Regions from separate parts of the Homo sapiens genome. Here region 1 is linked to region 2. The links are contacts of gene promoters, found by promoter capture Hi-C in blood cells and fetal thymus (Javierre and others, 2016). All regions are on one chromosome and are shown on one strand. Each heading gives the region's core, a stretch centred on a gene start or on the middle of the fragment in contact. The rest is flanking DNA. Distances are from core to core; before and after follow the strand shown. Region 1 holds the start of LIMA1 (LIM domain and actin binding 1). Region 2 holds the start of AQP5 (aquaporin 5).

Region 1 (2,700 bases), core at 115-2,614, 320 kb before region 2:
CTCACTGCAATCTCCACTTCCCGGGTTCAAGTCATTCTCGTGCCTCAGCCTCCCGAGTAGCTGGGATTACAGGCACTTACCACCACGTCCGGCTAATTTTTGTATTTTTAGTGGAGACGGTGCTTCGCCATGTTGGCTAGGCTGGTCTCGAACTCCTAACCTCAGGGGATCCGCCTGCCTCAGCCTCCCAAAGTGCTGGGATTACAGGTGTGAGCCACCGCGCCCGGCCCCTTGTACCTGATTTTGAATGGAGTTTCAACCAATCACAAACAGACAACCAGCCAAGTGGTTATATAATTAGGGACCTCCCATGTGACCATACCCAAATAAGGCAAACGCTTAGCTGTAGCCAATCAAATTTCTTTACTTTCGTGTTCAGCCTATAAAGTTTGATGCCTGGGCAGCTAGAGCAGGGGTGTCTGAGCCTCTTTTGGTTCTGACTGTTGTCCGATTCAAAATCTAAGTTTGTTTTGTCTGAAATTTTTATTTCTACAATACCTATCCAGAAATCAGTCTAGGCTGGATATTTGAAGGAAGAAGGGAATAACTGGCTGGCATATTCATCACCTGTTGGAAATCTCTCTTCTCACACATTTTCATTAACTTCTTGAGGAAGTGTAATTACAAGCGTTTTCCCACGAGCAGCCCCTACTAATAACGCATCAAGCTGCATGAATTCCGAAAAGCTTCAGAAAACTTGTGGTCTGAAACCCTACTATGCTTGAGGTACAGGAAAGAAGGATACTATCAAAAGGCATCATGCAGCTGGCACGGAACTGGGACAAGAATTTGGGGGCAGGATGGCCAAGTGCTAGGCCAATTGACGGTCTCCAAACCATTAGCACAGCTCCTATTCTGAATGGAGGAGTAAAAACAGCTGTTGGAGAACTTGGACGTCATCTGCCCTTGTCAAACCGTTTTCAGGATTAATGTACTTAATTCAGCTTTTTCCACTACACCACACAGCCTCCTGTAAAACACCCTCCCTGCACACAACTTACCCCCAAAGCACCAGGAACCTAGCTGGCTAGAGTTGAGCTTAGGAAAAACCTGAGTGGCTCCAGAGTCAAACTGCGATAACGTTGAGTCAGAGGAGTTAAGGACAAAGTAGAGCTGCACAGAGGCCCACGTCGTGCAAGTGCGTGTCTCCTTCAGAGAAAAGCGTGCCGAGGTAGACTAGGCCCCGGGCAGCAAAAACCCTGTCCCGTCGCCAGCGCCCCGCACCGCCAGAGCGACTGGAGCAGACGCGAGCGCTGGGCACGTAGCCGGTGGCGCGCACGCTCAGCCCGAGGCCGCACGGGAGGCTGTCTGGCGTGCGCGCCCCCGCGGCGGTGGGCGGGGTCCGGGGCGGGGCCGCAGGAGCAGTAGGTGTTAGCAGCTTGGTCGCGACAGGTGCGCTAGGTAGAGCGCCGGGACCTGTGACAGGGCTGGTAGCAGCGCAGAGGAAAGGCGGCTTTTAGCCAGGTAAGGGCCTTCTCTCTCCACAACCGGAGAGTGCGGGAAGACCCCGGCTTCTCTCCACACCCTCTTTCTCCTTCGACTTTTGGGGCGGGGGGAGTGCAAGGAGTGTGAGTCCCTCCCCCTCGAGATAAGGGGTCGAGGGACGCTGATCCTCCGTTCTTTCCTCACTTCTGGGGCCTGCGCTGGGTGGGGAGTGCTTATGTCGGGCTGAGCCTTTGCTGCCCAAGGGCGGGAGCTGCAAATACCCCGTCCTCTCCCACCGAGAACACTGCATTCTAACTGTATACTTTCTGGTGTGGTGGAGGAAGGTGACAATTCATTAAAACTCCAAATACCCTCCTTCCAGGGAAATACTGTAATATTCAACTGTTCTTTTTCCTTCATTTTCAGCCATTCCCTCTCTTTTCGATTTTTTCTCCCTTCCATTACGCCAGCTGAACTCTGTTTAAGACACTTACACCCTTTTGAGGAATGTTGAGAATATAGCAGTCCTTGCAGCCGATGTGTCATCCCCGAATCGCTATCGTGTATATATCGCTGGCACTTGCCCCCGACATATGTTGGTGTTAATGTAAGGTAATTGTACACCCCTGGCTACACATACTAAAGCTTGAAGTTGTAGCTGCTAGGAACGAACCATCTGGCACCCTTCCTAGCCTCCTTACTGATGCTTGCAAGAACGGTTTAGCTGATCCTGGTGAGAGATATTTGAACTACTATTGTCTTGCACCTAATTCCAGCTTTCAAAAGTCTGCCTTGGACGGGCGCAGTGGCTCACGCCTATAATCCCAACACTTTGGGAAACTGAGGCGGGAGGATCGCTTGAGCCCAGGTGTTTGAGACCAGCCAAGGCAACTTAGCGAGACCCTTGTCTCTACAAAAAAATAAATAAATAAATAAAAATAAAAGATAAGTCTGCCTAATCCAGATCTGCCTAATCCAGATGGTTCAATTGACTTGACTTTTCAGGTTAGTCAAAGGTAATTAGGGAGTTATCAGTTTTTAAGGCAATGCCCATTTTGGGGAGAGGTTTTCTTTTGCATTAAGTATTCTTTCTTTTGCTCTTGATTTAAATGGTTTAACACAGTACCTTTTATCTGCTTGGTTACCAATACTATTCACAAATGCTAAATATTTCAGGAGCCATGAAATAACACCAATCCTTTCTTCTGAGGTATGATGTAGACACAAAAGAACATGACCCCTAACAACATGTTCTAAGTTCCTGTAGAGGTATAA
Region 2 (2,700 bases), core at 113-2,612:
TCTGCCCAACCCCCAGCCCCCATAAGCTGGCATTTACCCTCCATCCTGTGGGCAGCTGCCCGGTTTGCCTGCCTCACACCCCATCCCGGCCTCCTGCCCGTGCCTGGCCCCATGCCAGTGCCAGCCTTAAACCCGTCTCTCCAGTGCGGCTGACTCACAGCTTGACAATGGCCAAGCAAATCCTCCTCTGTGTTTGATTAATGAACCCAGTTTGCATGGGGTTGGGGGCTGACTCTGGGGCTGCAGGAGGTGGGAGGGAGGCAGGGGTGCGGGGTTGAGGGGAGGAGCACAGGTTGGGGAAAGAGGGAACCAATACTCAACAGAAACTGCTCTGCACTGGCCCCACATTAGGGGGTTCCTATCTACGGTTTCTAAATGTGAGCCCCTTGACACCTGCTGTGGCAGACACAACCATCCCCATGGAGGCGCTGAGAACAATGAAGCACAGACAGGCCAGGGTCACCCAAAGCCGTGATGACAGCCCGCTTTTCTCTGGTGGTTCTACTCAACCGCTCCACTGAGGTGATGGGAGAGGTGAGGGGCCCAGGAGGAAGGTGGAGCTCAAAGGTGAGACAGGAGGAGGCAGAAGTTTCTGGCAGGAGAGGAGGGGTAGCAGGCATTGGAGAGAGACCAGGGTGGGCCAGCATGAGGGGAGGGGGAGAGGAGGTGGGCAGGAAGGGAGCACATATCAGCCTGGAGAGTTGCCTTCCTGGCCTTGGGAGGCTCTTGCCTTCCTGGTGAAGGGTGTGGGCTGGCCCACTCTGCGGCACCCCTTTTTTCCAGGTGGGGTAAGAGGCCTGGTCCTGAGCCCACCCCAGGGTCGAGGCTCCCACCCCCCCCCCAGGGCACTCACCGCGTTGACGGCCAGATTGCCCCGGGCATTGAGCGGTGCCACACCGTAGAGGATGCCAGCCCCGGCAATGGCGCCCACCAGCTGGGCCGCCACGTAGAAGAAAGCCCGGAGCAGCGAGATCTGGTTGCCCACCAAGAGGGCCAGGGTGATGGCGGGGTTGATGTGGCCGCCGCTCACGGGTCCCAGGGCCTGGGCCAGCGTGCCTATGGCCAGGCCAAACGCCAGCGCGATCTGCAGGATGGTAGGCAGCGCCGACGGCCACTTGAGGGCCGAGCCCAGGCCAAAGAAGACGAAGATGAGGGTGGCCAAGAACTCTGCGAACACGGCCTTGAGGAAGGCCACGGAGCACACCTCCTTCTTCATGGTGGCCGCGGGGGCCCGGCGGCAGCTGCCGCGGCGGGGGGCGCCCGTTGGGTCGCAGGCGGCGGAGGAGGTGGATGCGGCGGGGGCGGGGGCCTGGCTGCGGGGCGCCGCGCACTGTCCCGCGCCCACTCCGAGGCTGGCGGCCTGGCGCGGGCCCTGCTGGGGCGCGCTATATAGGGGGCGGGCGGCCGGGCGCGGGGCCGGCGCGGGGGGGCAGGGGGCGGCTCCTACGCTCGGGGGCCAGCGCGGCGCGCGGGTTGGGAGGCTCCAGGCCGCTGCGGGCCCGCCGCTCTCCGTCGTCCAGCGCAACCCCGGCGCGACCCCCGCCCCCCGGCCGGGGCAGCCGCCGGCCCGTCCGGGCCACGTGACCCAGGCGGCGGTGTAGACCGGCCCAGCGTCCCGGGCCCTGCGCATGATGCGCCCAGGTTGGCTCCCGCGCTCTCCTCGGTGCCGTGCGCCCCGGACTCCCTGGGAGACGGGGCTCGGTCCCGGCGCTTCACTCCGACCTCGGGGCGTCTAGCTCCGCCGGCCTTTACCGCGCTCCGTGCGCGGCCTTCCCCTTTTCTTCTCTTCGGGCTTTTGGTCCAGCTCCTCCTTTTCCTCCTGCGACCGGAGCATCCTGACCCGCCTCACCCCCGGCTGGGTCGGAGTGATGCTCGTCCCGCAGGTCGGCGCCGCTCACCTCCCTCACCGCCGGCGGCGGGGGCGGGCGGCCGGGCTGGGTCCTGCAGGGCGGTCCGGCCGTCCGACGTGGGCCGCTCCCGGCCTGGGCCGGGCGAGCTTCTGGGCTTGGAAGGCTGGCGTTTTGGGAAAAGTGGGCACCGTGCCAGCCTGCCCCGACGCTTCGCAATCCTCGACGCCCGGTAGCTGGGCAGTACCTGGACTAGGCAACGGATCCCCGGAGGCGCCCTCTCCCAGGCCGGGGTTCCCCTTGTCGACGGGACGGGACGGGGGTGTGACGTGAGGCCTTGAGACTCTGGGAGTTGGAGTGGGGGAGCAGGGGGGGTAGAGACGCACCACTGACCTCCCAAGCGCGGTCTTGGCGTCTTCCCTCTTCCTGCTAGAAGCCCCTCACCCTGGATCTAAGACTCTCCTTCTCTTCCTCCACCTCCCCTAAGTCTCCTTCAAACCCTCACTTGGTCTTGATCTCTCTCCCCTCGAAATCTGTTTCTGTCAGTCAGTCTTTGCAAAACCCTATTTCTCTTTTTGTCTCTGTCTTTGGTCTCTGACCCTCTCCCTCTGCCAGCCTCTTCCTCTCGGTCTCTCTCCGAGAGGTCTCTTTCTCATTTCAGTCTCTCTGTTCTCCACCTCTCCATCTCTCTCTCTCTCACACCTTCTCATTTTCTGTTTTTCCTTCCTGCCTTTTGCTGTCTTAGTCTCTCTGTCTCTCTCTATTCATTTCTCTCATCCTGCAGTTTCTGTCTCCTGGCTATTTTCACCTTTCCTCTGCCTCTTAATTTTTGTGCCTTTCTTTGTTTCTGTCT

What was found. Contacts are between HindIII fragments. The CHiCAGO score rates a contact against its expected background, and 5 or more counts as called.
Region 1: a contact is called between the fragment with the promoter of LIMA1 here and the fragment with the promoter of AQP5 in region 2, in 6 of 17 cell types (M2 macrophages, M0 macrophages, M1 macrophages and 3 more). The highest score is 9.5, in M2 macrophages.

Annotation. Positions count from the first base shown.
Region 1 is chr12:50,282,184-50,284,883 of GRCh38, reverse strand. It overlaps LIMA1 (LIM domain and actin binding 1), which reads left to right and starts at 1,364. Exons shown (of 11, transcript NM_016357.5): 1 at 1,364-1,464. LOC107984505 (a long non-coding RNA gene) reads right to left here and starts at 1,263. Exons shown (of 2, transcript XR_001749144.2): 1 at 1,002-1,263. RefSeq lists a silencer at 1,144-1,453. The HindIII fragment of the contact is 1,384 bases long and covers 689-2,072 here.
Region 2 is chr12:49,960,534-49,963,233 of GRCh38, reverse strand. It overlaps AQP5 (aquaporin 5), which reads right to left and starts at 1,362. Exons shown (of 4, transcript NM_001651.4): 1 at 854-1,362. The coding sequence starts at 1,216. AQP5-AS1 (AQP5 and AQP2 antisense RNA 2) reads left to right here and starts at 451. Exons shown (of 3, transcript NR_110591.1): 1 at 451-567. The HindIII fragment of the contact is 7,065 bases long and covers 1-2,700 here.